Regions from separate parts of the Homo sapiens genome. Here regions 2 and 3 are each linked to region 1. The links are contacts of gene promoters, found by promoter capture Hi-C in blood cells and fetal thymus (Javierre and others, 2016). All regions are on one chromosome and are shown on one strand. Each heading gives the region's core, a stretch centred on a gene start or on the middle of the fragment in contact. The rest is flanking DNA. Distances are from core to core; before and after follow the strand shown. Region 1 holds the start of ITGA1 (integrin subunit alpha 1). Region 2 has its middle 13 kb from the start of LINC02106. Region 3 has its middle 4.5 kb from the start of ARL15.

Region 1 (4,854 bases), core at 948-3,447:
CTGAATTGATGAGAAGTTTCCAAATCTGAAAGAGATTGCTAAAGAAGAGCCTACAGAATATAATGACTGATGGGAAAGCAGTCCAATTTCAGATCCCTCATGTGTTGCGAAATGGGCATAAATATAGTGCACACAAGGTTTCTAAATATTTTAAGTCTCTTCCTGGATTCACCAATGTATATTTCACCAACATATATATGAAATTGTAACTTGTTAAACTTCTCTGTTACTTCAAGTTTCACTCTTGTCTTTTTAGAGGATACGCAAACCTCATTTCATCATTTCTACTCTAGAGACTGCTTATTTGGTAGAATGAAAAAGTACAACTTGGATAGTAAACTACTGTATTCAGATTTTGCACAAAAACAACAAAATACAATCTAAAAAAATTTGAGTTGGAGAAGAATCATAGGTCAAATATGTGTAAAAAGTAGTGGCAGTAGCTGGTAAGTTAAACCACTCACCGGCTATAATGCTGTTCAGCAGTTACCACTGTTTGGATTATTGGACATTTCCTGAGTAGTGGGAAATGTTTGGATGAAAAGCCAGTAGCTAATTATTAACTCTCTTTACATTACCTCCCTTCTGAAAAAAGCTCTGCTTGCTGATAATCAACTTCTAAATCATCTTCATAAAACTTAACAATGCTTGGCCATCTAAGGCAGGTCTAAACTAGCTGGCTCTACCCTGTTTTTAGTGGTAAAAATGCTAAATTAACTAGTACTAATAACCATGCCAGCAGTAAAAACACTGAACAATTGAATATCAATGATATGTTAAAGCCAGCTGTTAATTAACCCATTAATAAGGTGATTTTCTTTCACACAGAGATTCTATCGATACACTTTCCCCCCACCTTCTTCCATTTTTCACCATTTCAACTTTCCCCCACCCCAATCAGTAACTGGTAAAAAAGATCTGACCATGAGTTCATTATTGGGAAAATCTTACAAAATGCTATATTTCAAGCTTTTTCTAAATTGGATACAACTTTGCATTTCCACTATGTTTTTAAGTCCCCTCCTTAAAAATACACATTTATGTACAAATAACAATACTATATTTTGCATCTTAAAAGTAGACTGCCCTGTGATATTTACAGAGAAAATGTTCACCATTCCTTTCTACGTTTCAAAATATCCCTCCTCTTGGGTGCTGACATAGAAACATCATTTTGGAACAAGTGGCAGTTTCGTCTTGCATCCCTGCCTTTTCTTGTTCTGCATGGGAAAAAAGCCTAAATAGTAGACAGCAAGAAAATTCAATAATGTCCACTCTGGAACAACCCGAGGGTAGGAATTTTGCATATGTATCAGGCGCCCTATAAGCATCACCCTCCCATCCCATGCCATAAAAAAGGGTGGAGGGGAGGAAATATTCAGCAAAGTCCTAATATACAATGTGTATTGTAAAAACAACTTTAATTTTAAAAGTGAATTCTACCTTCTAAGGTTTTCAGTGCTGCCTCACTCCTACTCCTAGGGTGAAGGACTTTGGAGAGACACGAAAACTAATTCATATCAAAACCAGAACGCGAAACTCCTGCCTGCCCCGTAGCCTGGCCTGAGTACCTGGAATGCCCGAAAGTGGATGGGCGCTCTCTCTTCCTATCTGGCCCATGGCTCTGAGGACCTCCCTCCCCGCTCCAAGCCCCAAGCCCGCGAGCAGGAGATGCTCAGAGAAAAGCGAGTCGCTCACCAGTGAGGAGCCAGCAGCAGGCGACAGCGACCCCTGGGCGGGCGCGGGGCCGAGGGGCCATGGCCGGAGCAGCCTCAGCGCCAGGGGGCCGCGCTGGTTCGCAGGGCAGGACCGGGCGCGGGAGCTGCGCTCTCTGGCTGGGCCACTTATCCCGCTGCCGCGGTTCCCAGTCCTCTGCCCCAGTGGCAGCGGCGCCCAGGAGCGGGAGAGGAGTGATTTCCTGTGTTTTCGTCGAATTCCTCTAAATGCGCTCCACGCTTTTCACATCCCAGACGGATTGCCACATCGCCCGCCCCTTCGCGCTCTTGGTCTCTGAAATCTCACTGGCAGCTTCCCAGGCTCTGTCCGAGACATGGACAAATAAAGCCAGCTTCGCGGGTCCGTGTTTAGGCTAAAGTCCACGGGCTGTAGAAGCAAACCTTAAAGGGACATCTGCCTTTCATTGAGAGGGTGATCTCGTTCTCCGGGCCAAATCCCCTAAGGTGGTAGGAAGGCGGGTAAGGGCTGGACCTTCGGGAGGGTGTTGCCAGCCCAGTGGCTCCGCCTTCACACCCCTTACTTCTCCCGGCCCGGGCAGGGAGGGCGCTTTGACAGTGCCTGGGCGCCCTTAACGGGAGGCAGCTTTCCCGGGTCCATTGCGCAGAGGGATTAGGCCGTCTGTGAAAATGCGAGGATCTGGAATCCCCCCTTCCATCCCCTGCGGACACTTGAAATTCACCGTGAAGTCGTTTTGCACGAAAGGGGGCGTCCCCACCACCCCGACAGGCTCCACTGAGGGCTTTGCTTTCGCTTATGGGGGGGTGGGGGGGTTGCTTCGTTTATGGTAATTCGTGGTTAAAGGGTGGTTGCAGATAAGCTTTTCTTTGAGATAACTAGGATAAGGGGAGAAAAGGAGAAGCAAGACGGAGGAAAAACAGTAAGAGGGAGAGCGAGAAGGGAAGAGAGGAAGAAAAGCAGCCTCCTTGGAAATGGAATGTGTGTGGGCTATTTTGTTTAAGTGAATTAGGATGTTTGTACGCTGGTAATTGAATCTAATAAAGAACTCGGGGCACTACTTTATTTTTTTCTTGCTTGAAACTTTCACGAGTGAAAATGCATTAAGAGTCCAGAAGTGCTTAGGAACTTGCAATGCTTCCCTTTCCTGGTGAGTTGAACAACCTCTCTGAGTCAAAAGCCATATTCACCCTAGCTTCAACCAATGCTGGCTATTTTCAAAATAGCTGTGTCTTAGCGGTTTTGAGAATTTCAAAGACAGAAAGAATAAGTGGATTTGTGTTTAGAGGAATCTGAGGGAAACAGTTCAATTCAATTCTTCAACTCAACAACTAATTGAGCATCTCTAGCAGAACTAGGGCTAGGCAGGACAAGAGTGCCACCCAAAGGAGGGTTCGTTGAGCAGAACGCAACACAGGTAGCACAGAACAGGTAACACGAGGGACAGGAAGGAAGAAGCCCACAGGGTTCACTGGATACATTGCCAGATAGAGGATCACAGCAACTAAAAGCTGGAGAAGACAAAAGTTGAAGAAGTTTAAGGAGCGTCAAAAATGGGGTGGGCAGACCCAAGGAGGTTGAAGGCCATCAGATCTCAGTATGTTGACCCATTAATCAAGAAATTCCTTTTCTATTATGTATCTGAACTGATTCACTATTTAGTAAATACATTAAAAATCTCGTTCTCCCGTTTTTAGTTTTTATAATGTCATTTCTCAGTTCTGTCTTCAAATTTACACAAATGAGTCTCTAGAAAAATTGTATTATGTTGGGTCACAGTTCAATCCCATTGGACTTTACTTAAGTTCCTTTGTTTGTGTTCAATGCTCTCATACCCTGCCAAGGAATTCATTTCCTGTGTATATCTCGTTTCCCTGTTGGTAGTATCAGTTATGTCTTATGCCTCTCAGTATGACTCTCTGTGCTTTGAACAGTAACCAATAGATATTGATTAATTCGTAGACATTTAAAAATCATAGTAAGTACTTTCCCAATGATATTTCTCCAAATTGCTTAGTTTTCAAAAACATATAATAGTGTGTCTATATATACACAATCATGTGTATGTATGTATGTGTACATATATATGTACAGCATATACATACATATGCAAATACATATATGGCATTTTAGCAAATTGCAATATATTTCATTAGAAAAAACAAAAAGAAATTGTAAAATATTGAAATAAAGTAGGGTTAACATATAATATGTTCAAGTTTACAATTACTGGGAAATTTACCTTTCTTCTGGGGGCTAATATATAATTTCAATTTTAATATTTTTATTTCCTCTAGGACTTACAAATTATTGGTGATAACCATCACTAACAGTGATATTGTTACAATTAATTTTCACAAGTTACAAATTTTATGTTTACATGTTTACATATTTATGAATCTTTTATATGTCTAGTCAATACAAATGTAGAGACTGAGAGATAACTATGGTTAGAGAATTAATTTTAGAATCAGTGCTTATTTTCTGAACTTCAATAAACCCAAATACAAATAAATGTCAAGCCGGTTATTTTCTTAACCAATTTTATTCTGACTGACAGAAAGACATGTCATTGAGTAAAGATTTAGAGAAGACAGAAACTTGCCCAGAGTCACAAACTAGTTATTGATATGAGACACTTGATGACAAATGTTTCAGCTCTAGACTTTATACTACATACTTTTCTATTTTAAATGAGACTTGATTTGATCAGATCTCTTTAAGGGTTTGGAAGCATGAGTAGGAGCATGAACCTTATTGTGAACTGCACACGCTTCTTATGAGAATCTAATGCCTGATGATCTGTCACTGTCTCCCATCATCCCCAGATGAAAACGTCTAGTTGCAGGAAAACAGGCTGAGGGCTCCCACTGATTCTACATTATGGTGAGTTTTATAATTACTTCATTATATATTATAACATAATTATAATGGGAATAAAGTGCACAATGAATGTAATGTGTTTGAATCATCTTGAAACCGTTTCCCCTACCCCTGGTCTGTGGAAAAAATGCCTTCTATGAAACCGGTCTCTCTGCCAAAACGGTTGGGGATGGCTGCACTGAAAGATTAGAGACTGAACTGATTAAGAATTTGGAAAGTGGATGTCTATGAAATGAGGCAAGAGTAATTGAGATTATTAACCAATAATCTCAAAAAGAA
Region 2 (4,854 bases), core at 711-3,210, 1.8 Mb after region 1:
CTTTTGGTAAGCTTTTTCAATCCTTTCATTTAGTGGAAAGGTGATTAAAATGACAGAAAAGCATTTAAACTTAGTTATCATGATCAACCTTCCCAATAGCTTTCTTTTTCTATCACGTGCTTTAGCCAGAGGTAAGAGAGCAATCATCTTTGAGGGCCTTCTCTACCTGCATCCTACGAAAATGAGTTTTCTAGAATTTTCTCAGATATTCCAGTGGAAGTGTTTCTTATAGTATCCTTTGCTGCCACCTGCTGTTCAGCCTACATTTATGAAAGCTGTCAATGCTATCCATTGTTGATGGTGTATTTTCTAACGTAAGGGGTGGGTAAAGATAACAAAACTGATGCATTGCCAGATCCTGTCAAGTGATCACACTTAAACATGACCTTCGAACCAGTAGCTGCATTTAATGTTTGTAGAAATTTACTTCCTTTGTCACACTCTTAGTGTGACATAGTAGCATAATAACCTAAGAAATCCTATTTCTTTCTCCTTTCAAGAACAGCAGGCTGGTCGTTGAGGAAATCAGTCTTTAAGTTGTTGAGGCCAGAATTGTAAGCTGGAGCCACCATGTGTAACTGCAGTCCACTAATGAATTAATAGCATTTATTTGTACTCCATGCTTCCAGCTGCCCAACCTCCGCTTTGCTATCTTGGTTGCTTGTATCTTGGTTGCTTGTATCTTGGTTGCTTGGTTGCTCTCATCTTTCTGCCACACTCACTGTCAGGAGAGTTGGGCTGCAGTAAATGTTGCTTCCTTGCTGTTTCTTTACTCCCTTTGTGCTCCTTTATTACTGAGCAGGCTCAGTTCTCTAGCTTTGGAGTTATAAACTGGGTTCACAATACAGACTAAATACATGCTGTTCCTCAATCCTTTATGTGAATGCTAGGTGTTTAAGTGCATAAAATGTTACCTTTTTCTTATAAGTGTGCCCATCTCAGTAATTCATTTAGCAGGGAGGTCTCTCCCTAACATTGCTGGAGCATCTGCTAACATTGTAGTTCATTTTCTAGAGACAACACCTTAATGGCAGAAGTTGCATAGGCTAAATGACTTTTGTTTGTGACACTTTACAATTGTAACTAGAAAGAAATTCAACACAGCACTGGGTAAAAAAAATGCAGAGAATGATCTCTTGCTTTCTTCTTAAGCTCACCATCTTTCTCCATCAAACTCAGCAGCAGCAGCGGGAAGGTTACAGTTACTTTTGAGAACACTGCGGCTGATGCTTCTTGTACAAATATTCGCTTTCTTCATGACAGAACTCCTTTTCCAAATTTACATTCAGGCCAAGATAAGTCATCCAGCTCAACCATGCATTTCAAAACCACCTGGTATCCTCAAATGTTCTTGTGACCAGGCTTCTAAAATCCTGTAGGGCAAAAATCTAACAAAGAGAAGTCATCCGCAAAGGTCACTGCTTCCAAGTTCATCTTTGGCAGGATGTAGCTCTGTGCTGATATTAAAAAAAAAAATGTATCTAAAGTACAAGATATAGTTCTCTTTTGTGCAACATTCCCAAATCTGATTTGGCTTTCAAATTTATTGCAACCTTTAAAGGGGTGATTTTGGCAATGTTCTGGGGGTGGGGTTGATAACAGTCAAAAAGCTGTGGAAATGATTTAATGGTTCATGGCTTTGAAGTGCCTATGAAAGACATTTAACTAACTTTATATTTCTCCCTACATTTTCCCCAAAACGTGTATGTGTGGAAATTTTCCAAATTGCTTTTCCTTAAAGCACAGAGGACATCATTTTAGTGCTGGAGGGCAGAAATTTATTACTTTACAAGCTCCTTGCTTGCACATGTTTTTCTTCAGAGCTCACTGAAGTTACTTTTCCATCTTTTGCTAACAAACTGAAAAACTTCTTCTAATTTCTTCTTTGATATGTTATGAAGACAGCCCCCCACCCTTCCTCTATAAATCTTCCAGGTACTTTTAGTGCAGCAGCAGGATATATGAATCTAACTCAGGGAATTAGGAAGGGAGGGAGGGAGGAAGAATTAACATGTTAATCACTTATCTGATGCTAAGCACTAAGTGAGATCCTTCATGTCATATATATTTGCTCATTAAAATCATGAATTAATTTGATAAATACTTATTAAGATTGTACTAAGGTGGCTCAAAACTGTAAACCCAGCACTTTGGGAGGCTGAGGCAGGAGCAATCGCTTGAGCCCAGGAGTTTGAGACCAGCTTGGGCAACACAGGGAGATCTTATGTTTACAAAAAACTTAAAAATTAGCGAGGTGTGATGTTGTTTGCTTTTGGTCCCAGCTACTAGAGAGGCTGAGGTGAGAGGATTGTTTGAGCCTGGGAGGTTGAGGCTGCAGTGAGCTATGGTTGCGCCATTGTATTCCAGCCTGGGCAACAGAGCAAGACCCTTTCTCAGACCAAAAGGAAAAAATAAATAAATATATATATATATACACACACGCACACACACACACACTAAGAGCTGGGCATTCTTGGGACTGAGTACTAACCATAAACTAATTTACTGTCCAGTAGGAGAAACATACAAGTAAAAAGTCAAGGTTGATGCAATATCAAATGCTTTTGAGAGGCAGTTACAACACAGTGCTTGGAAATATGGACTTTGAAGACAGCCTATTTGGGTTGAATACAAATTCTGCTACTTGCTAGCCCTGTAATCTTGTGCAAGTTACTTCACCCTTGGACCTTTGTTGTCTCATCTGTGAATTAGGAATAAGAAGAGCATTTACTTCAATATGTTGTTGTGCAGATAAAATGAATTAATACACTGGGAGTGCTTATAAAGGTGCCTGGTATTTAGATTATATACGTAGCTACTTCTCAATATCCAGATTTCAGCTCAAATGTCATGTCCTTGACTGGAATTTTCCCATCGGCCTTTTTAATATATTTATTTTGAGACTCATCGACCTTTTAAAACCAGGCTCTCCTCAAGAGTCACTCTCATTCCTACCACGTTCTTTAATTCCTTATGGGCCTATCACTCTGTGGAATTACATTCATCTTATTTGCTTGCTTATTAATTGTCTCTTTTGCCTACTAGAGAGTTCAAAACACAAGGGTGGAGACCTCTCCAATTTTATTCGTTGCTTTGTTTCCAGACCCTAGGACAGTGCCTGGAACACACTCATTTTTCTACTAGAATTCATGAAATGAATTGCTGGATGTTAAGAGTTATGACAGGGGTAAGCACAGAGCTCTATTTGGAAGTACATAGGAGAGAGAGTTGACCCAGTCTTTGATGGCATGTCATATGGTTTCCAGGAGGAAGTGACATCCTTCAGCACCGGCAGACTGTTCATCATTAGGGGCAGAGGTAAAAAGACAGGAATTCCAGGAAGCAAGAGGGAGGGAAAATATGCATTTAATCCTCATAATGGCAGTTTAAGATGGGCATTTTTATCCCCATTATCTGAAGTGAGAAAAAGAAACTGAGAGTGAGCTATGTGAACTTGCCCAGAGTCCCAGAGTTAGTACATGTCAGGGATAAGATTAAATCATTCCACTGCACTTACCTGCAAAGAATAGGACTGTACGAGCCTCAAAATCAGAAATGATATCTAGTGCCTGAAATTGTTCTTCATAGACCCCATTCACTCAGAAATGTTGCTGTGATGTTTTTCCTGTGCTATGAAGAGTATCACAACATGTCACTCTTCGCTGCAGATCAAGAGGAGCCTTCTTGGATTCCACCTCACTGTCTTTTCATGATCTAACCTTGTATCTGGCTTCCTTGTTACAAACACACGTCATACATTCCAAACTGCATGGAAAATAGAAAAGCAATTCTCTACACTTGAACATGCACATAGAAAAACCCAGCCATTTTGGTGAAGATGAGATTGGTTAATTCTCTGGCTGTTGCCCTATCCTGTTCATGCTCACTAGGCAGACAACACCAAGCTTGGCCCTGGTAGAACAGCCTCATCTCTGAATGCTCTCTACCGGCCAGTGGATCAACAGCTTACTCCTCCTTTAGAAACACTGGAAAGAGGCTTTCGTCAATAGATTTAACACAGTCTTTTTTTCTTTTTTTAATATTTGGAGAGATTTATTCTGAGCCAAATATGAGTGACCATGGCCTGTGACACAGCCCTCAGGAGGTCCTAAGAACATGTGCCCAAGGTGGTCAGGGTGCAGCTTGGTTTAATACATTTTAGGGAGGCATGTGACTTCAATCACATACATTTAAGAAATATGTTGGTTCTGTTCAGAAAGGTGGAACAACTTGAAGCGGGGCAGGGGACAGGAGGGGGATGGGTGGTGGGGGAGGTGGCTTCCAGGTTATAGGTGAATTTAAAATTTTTCTGGGCCAGGCGCGTTAGCTCACGCCTGTAATCCCAGCACTTTGGGAGGCCGAGGTGGGTGGATCACGAGGTCAAGAGATGGAGAGTGAAACCCCGTTGCTACTAAAAATACAAAAATTAGGTGGGTGTGGTGGCGTGTCTGTAGTCCCAGCTACTCAGGAGGCTGAGGCAGGAGAATCGCTTGAAACCGGGAGGCGGAGGTTGCAGTGAGACGAGATCACGTCACGGCACTCCAGCCTGGCAACAGAGCGAGATGCCATCTCAAAATTAATTAATTAATTAATTAATTAATTAATTAATTCTGGGTTGAGTTTATCTGAAGACCTGGGATCAATTGAAAGGAAGTGTCTGGGTTAAAGGATTGTGAAGATCAAAATTCTTATCATGCAGAGGAAGCCTTCAAGCAGCAGGCTTCAGAGAGAATCGATTGTAAATGCTTCAAATTCTTCTTATCAGAGTTAAGGGCTGTGTTGATGCTAATGCCAGAGAGGTATAATGAGGCATATCCGACACCCACGGCCCCATCATGGCCTCAACCAGTCTTC
Region 3 (4,854 bases), core at 1,234-3,733, 1.5 Mb before region 1:
TTACTGCATACCTTCATTGTTCAATACAGTATCCACTACCTGCATTTCTAGTTCTCAATAGCCATGTGTAGCTAATGGCTACCATACTGGGCAGTACAAGTATAGGCCATTTCCATCATTACAGAAAGTTTTATTGGACTGTATCACTTAGCACAACCCAGAGATGCCATCCACGACTACCTGTCTAGAGTATGCTTCCCTGTTACTCGCCAGCACATCTCTTTAATTCTGTATAGCACTTATCACTAGTTGATATCTTTCCTGTCTCCAATCACTAGAGACTAAGCTTTATGTGAGCAGGGATAATATTTCTCTAGCATCCCTAATATATAGTAGGTGTTAAATAGGTATGTAGAATGCATGAATCCATATTAGCCTGCCCAGAGTACCTACATGCCTGTCTTTCTCAATTTAAACAGCATAGAGTCAGAATCTCAAGTCTGGATGAGATAGGAAGCATTATTATCTAGATGGTATATGATAGCCACTTTTTTCATTGGCTTTATTTTATAGTTTCTTGTTTCTGAGTTTCTCGTTTCCTTGCAAGCTGCCTTGAATCAATTGCCAGCTTGGATTAAGGCTTCCTTATATGTAAGCCTTGAAAGAAGAGATCAAAATTATAAATCACGGGCATTCAAGATGTTTCCAACTTTCAGTGGAATACCTACAAGAAAGCAATTTGAATAGTTTCTATATTATCCCAATAGGTGATGATCTCATAAGAAGCAGGCAAGAAAGCAAGTGCCCAAACACTTTTTTGGGATTTGCTTCCCTCTGTAGTTGGCACATCTTTATGCCAGTCTTAGGGACCAGAATGAGGGAGCAATTACACTGGATGGAGCTGCAAATCAACTTCCACCAACACCACATGGGGAGTTGGGAAGCAATAATCTGCAGAGAAGCTCCTAGCTGAACCCTGATTTGCACCAGTTAGACTTCCCCAAACTAAACTGTCTATACCTCCTATACCTTGGGCTCAAACACTCATCTTCTTTTAAGTATGTAATGCCTCATCCCCAATTTGTTGCTATTGATTCTTTATATGCTGTTTTCCCATCTGGAAAGTTCCCCTCACAAATCCTCCAAGATAAATTTTTTCTTTCTTGGAGAGTTCTATTAGAACTCCAGAAACTTTGGCAAACCCTCACTGAGTTCTCATCCCTTAAACACTTTAGTAACTCCTCTGGCACCAGGTTGACTGTGTGCACATTTGTATCGGGAAGGGCTTTGTCTATTCGCCTTTCTTTGTCCTGTTATTTCTAATAAGCGGAAGTTTCTCCGTGGTAGACTCTAGGCCTGCTTTATTTTCTTGTCACACTGATCCCAAGATCTTGTCACTTCCATAGTAGTATAGGGAAGAAATAGATATTCCAGGGTTATGGAAGGAAAGTCCTTAGCTCTGTTACTTAATGTGTGATCTTGGGAAGGGTATTTTATCTGTGATTTTTGCTGTGAGATTTCAGCATGGTGATCATGAGGCCTAATGGATTTGTTGATTTTTCTCCTTCACTTGGAGCTGACTGTGTCAGGAAGTACTAACAAGTATGCTCAGGCAGTGACATATTGACACAATGAGGCTGGCTGTAAATAGTGAGGTCTATGCTCTAAGCAACCAATCAATCTTTAGTGGTGCCAGGGCTACATGCAAGGTGTCAAGCCAGGCTGTTGAGGGAGATTCAGACACACGTGTGTGGCAGAAAAGGAGATTCACAATTCAAGAAAGGACTTGCTGCCCAATTGCAATGAGTGTGATTCACTAATGGCCTCCATCTATCTATTAACTCTTTTAGCTCTTCCAACACCTTTATTTTAGTTCCATAAGGCTCATAACTGGCTTGCAGAATAGGAAATTAATACAATCAGCAATGTAGAAATGTATCTAAGAGATTAAATGAACTTGCTGGGGTTGGTATTGAGAGGGATTTACACAGCTTCTTGATATTTGGTGCTTGAATGGTGGTTGCTTGTGAGATCTAGTTATCTTTCCCTCGTATATTTACCATTTTCAGTGGATGTCTTATCTTGCTTTAAAACCCCAAGACCCAGCAAAGCCCTTTTTGGAAAAGGTGAGTGACCCTTAATCATGGTAGGGATTAGTTGAACTCTATCCCCTGGCTGAGTAAACAGGAGCCTGGAAGGAACAGGTGACCTGTCCAAGCTCATCTAGTTAAGTAGTTACAAATCTTCATCTTGACTGCCAGGACTGATCTTTGAAAAATAGACATACAAGGCCTTAAGATCTACCTGCAGGAGAGAAAACAGGTTTAAACTGACATGGAGATATTTTAGATTAAAAACTTCAGACTTAGCTATTTCAGTGAGGGGTTCCTCTAGTTTGAGTTGCAAGTAGGTCACCATGCTAAGAGCAGAAAACCCTACTCTAATTCCAACCTCTGACCTCATTCAATAATCATTGGCTTGATTCCATTTATGAATCAAGCTCTGTTAGCGGCTTCATGTGGGGACACCCTGTTCTGATGAAGTTCATCTTCTGGGACACAGTGATACTTCATTTAGGTTTAGGAAGCAGAGAAGAGGACTGGGGTAAATCAGAGGTGGGTGTCAAGGTATCCACTGGAGAGAAAGGGAAAAAGGACTCAGAAGAGAATTTTAAAGTCACAGGAGTTATTGGATGTGGTAAGTGAGAAAAAGTGCCTGATGACCTCTGCAGAGCTGACCACTTTTTCTGAAAAAGAAGTGTCCATGATTTAAGAGTCATTATAATGAAAGATACCATCTTTCAGCTATTAAGGAATAATATTAAGGCAAAGATGAGACAAGATAATCATTCCCTACTTTGGAGCTGGGGGGTAGAAGGAAGAAGACTACATAAGCTAGGTCAAAACTGAGTATTAAAAGTGCTCAGCTGGGCGTGATAGCTCACGCCTGTAATCCCAGCACTTTGGGAGGCTGAGGCAGGCGGATCACGAGGTCAGGAGATCAAGACCATCCTGGCCAACATGGTGAAACCCCGTCTCTACTAAAAAAAGATACAAAATTAGCTGGGTGTGGTCACGTGTGCCTGTAGTCCCAGCTACTCAGGAGGCTGAGGGAGGAGAATCACTTGAACCCGGGAGGCGGAAGTTGCAGTGAGCCAAGATTGTGCCACTGCACTCCAGCCTGGCAACAGAGCGAGACTCCATCTCAAAAAAAAAAAAAAAAAAAGAAAAGAAGTGCTCATACTCTTTGTACCAGTAATTCTATTACTAGAAATTATTCTTAGGATAATAAGATGTGGATAGTTTTATAAGCAAACATTCACTGTAATATTTATAATAGTAGTAACTAATAAAGGATTTGTTAACACAGTAGTACATTTTTACAATAGTTTTATGTATCCATTAAAGATTTATGAAAAGTTTCAGTGAGATAGTGTATGCATGATACAAAACTAGTGAAGGCAGTATTCTCCTTGGAAACAACAAAAGAATAGCTGGAAATAACCACTAATATGTTGATTTTTCTGGAAAGTTGGGAGACCAAGTTGCAAAAATGCATTTCTGTTTTCATTCCTTGCAAGTGACAGTTTAACAAAAAATTTTCCTCCAAATTTGGCTAGCCAGCAGCCTTTATGGAATTTTAGAGTATGGACTGTCAAAATAATTTCTCTTTGCTTTTGACAAGCAACAGTGATGGCCTCTGTATTAGTCTGTTTTCACGCTGTTGATAAAGACATACCTGAACCTGGGCAATTTAGAAAAGAAAGAGGTTTAATGGACTTACAGTTCCACATGGCTGGGGATGCCTCATGATCATGGCAGAAGGTGAAGCAGGAGCAAAGACATGTCTTACATGGCGGCAGGCAAGAGAGAATGAGAGCTTGTGCAGGGAAATTCCTCCTAATAAAACCATCAGATCTCATGAGACTTACCACTATCATGAGGACAGCATGGGAAAGACTCGCCCCCTTGACTCAACTTCCTCCCACCGGGTCCCTCCCACAACACGTGGGAATTCAAGATGAGATCTGGGTGGGGTCACAGCCAAACCGTATCAGCCTCTTTCCTCAAAACCTATGCACTAATGCAATTGCCTCATGAGTTTACATGTTTCTTCCGCATCTGGAAGAGGGTCATTCTTTTCACTGACAGCAAGGGCAGAACTAGGTTAATGAGATCATGTCTTGTTCTGGATTGCAGTCTGTTACTTGGCATACAGTATGGTAGGTTGATTAAATGCATTCTAACTTCTCTACACTCTTTTAAAAAGCATGTATTGAGGTGATTACCTCAATAGGTGCTACCAACCCTATCAGCTATGACTGCAGCTTCATGTAGTGGGTAGTGTATTATCTGTTCATACCAATTCAGTCAAGTTAGCCTCTTTCCTCTGTAGGGGCGGACTCACTGACATCTCAGAAAACATCTAATTGAAAAAATGTGCTCCATATGGAGTTCAAAATCTACAGGTTGTTGTTGTTGTTTTATAAGGACTCTTTCCTAAAATGCAATATGTGATTTTTTAATACATTACACTGACTACAAGGTTTTCATTGATGCCAGTCACAATGAATGTGCAAATTGTGTGGAATAAAGTGAATATTATGGTGCAGTCTTTGGAACTTTTCCTTGAACATATTCTTTCATCTCCCTGCTTTGGCCCCATATACTAATTCTTAGAGGCAGCAAGAACCATACTGACCCTAATGACATGTTCAGGACTATCTTTCCCTAAGCTTAACTTTTAAAGGAAAGGCAGAAGCCACCTGCTTCTGAGTGGCTATCCTCCTCTGCATAGAGACTGATAGGCCTCTCGAAAGCCTGACTGGGCAGTAGCCCACACATCATTTATCACTAAGACAATGGTCCATAAGGTGTCTCTTTGCTAACTCAAGCCCTTTATCTTATTTTAAAT

What was found. Contacts are between HindIII fragments. The CHiCAGO score rates a contact against its expected background, and 5 or more counts as called.
Region 2: a contact is called between a fragment that was not itself captured here and the fragment with the promoter of ITGA1 in region 1, in 1 of 17 cell types (M0 macrophages). The highest score is 6.0, in M0 macrophages.
Region 3: a fragment that was not itself captured here is called in contact with the fragment with the promoter of ITGA1 in region 1 in 2 of 17 cell types (total B cells and total CD8 T cells); the score reaches 5.5 in total B cells.

Annotation. Positions count from the first base shown.
Region 1 is chr5:52,785,259-52,790,112 of GRCh38, reverse strand. ITGA1 (integrin subunit alpha 1) reads right to left here and starts at 2,197. Exons shown (of 29, transcript NM_181501.2): 1 at 1,699-2,197. The coding sequence starts at 1,759. It overlaps PELO (pelota mRNA surveillance and ribosome rescue factor), which reads right to left and starts at 2,197. Exons shown (of 3, transcript NM_015946.5): 1 at 1,699-2,197. PELO-AS1 (PELO antisense RNA 1) reads left to right here. Exons shown (of 5, transcript NR_186455.1): 2 at 4,521-4,578. RefSeq lists an enhancer at 2,230-2,509. The HindIII fragment of the contact is 1,585 bases long and covers 972-2,556 here.
Region 2 is chr5:50,954,452-50,959,305 of GRCh38, reverse strand. No RefSeq gene overlaps it. Among named protein-coding and RNA genes, the nearest start is that of LINC02106, 13 kb to the left of the region's middle. The HindIII fragment of the contact is 3,894 bases long and covers 14-3,907 here.
Region 3 is chr5:54,312,620-54,317,473 of GRCh38, reverse strand. No RefSeq gene overlaps it. Among named protein-coding and RNA genes, the nearest start is that of ARL15, 4.5 kb to the right of the region's middle. RefSeq lists a cis regulatory region at 3,793-4,140. The HindIII fragment of the contact is 4,389 bases long and covers 289-4,677 here.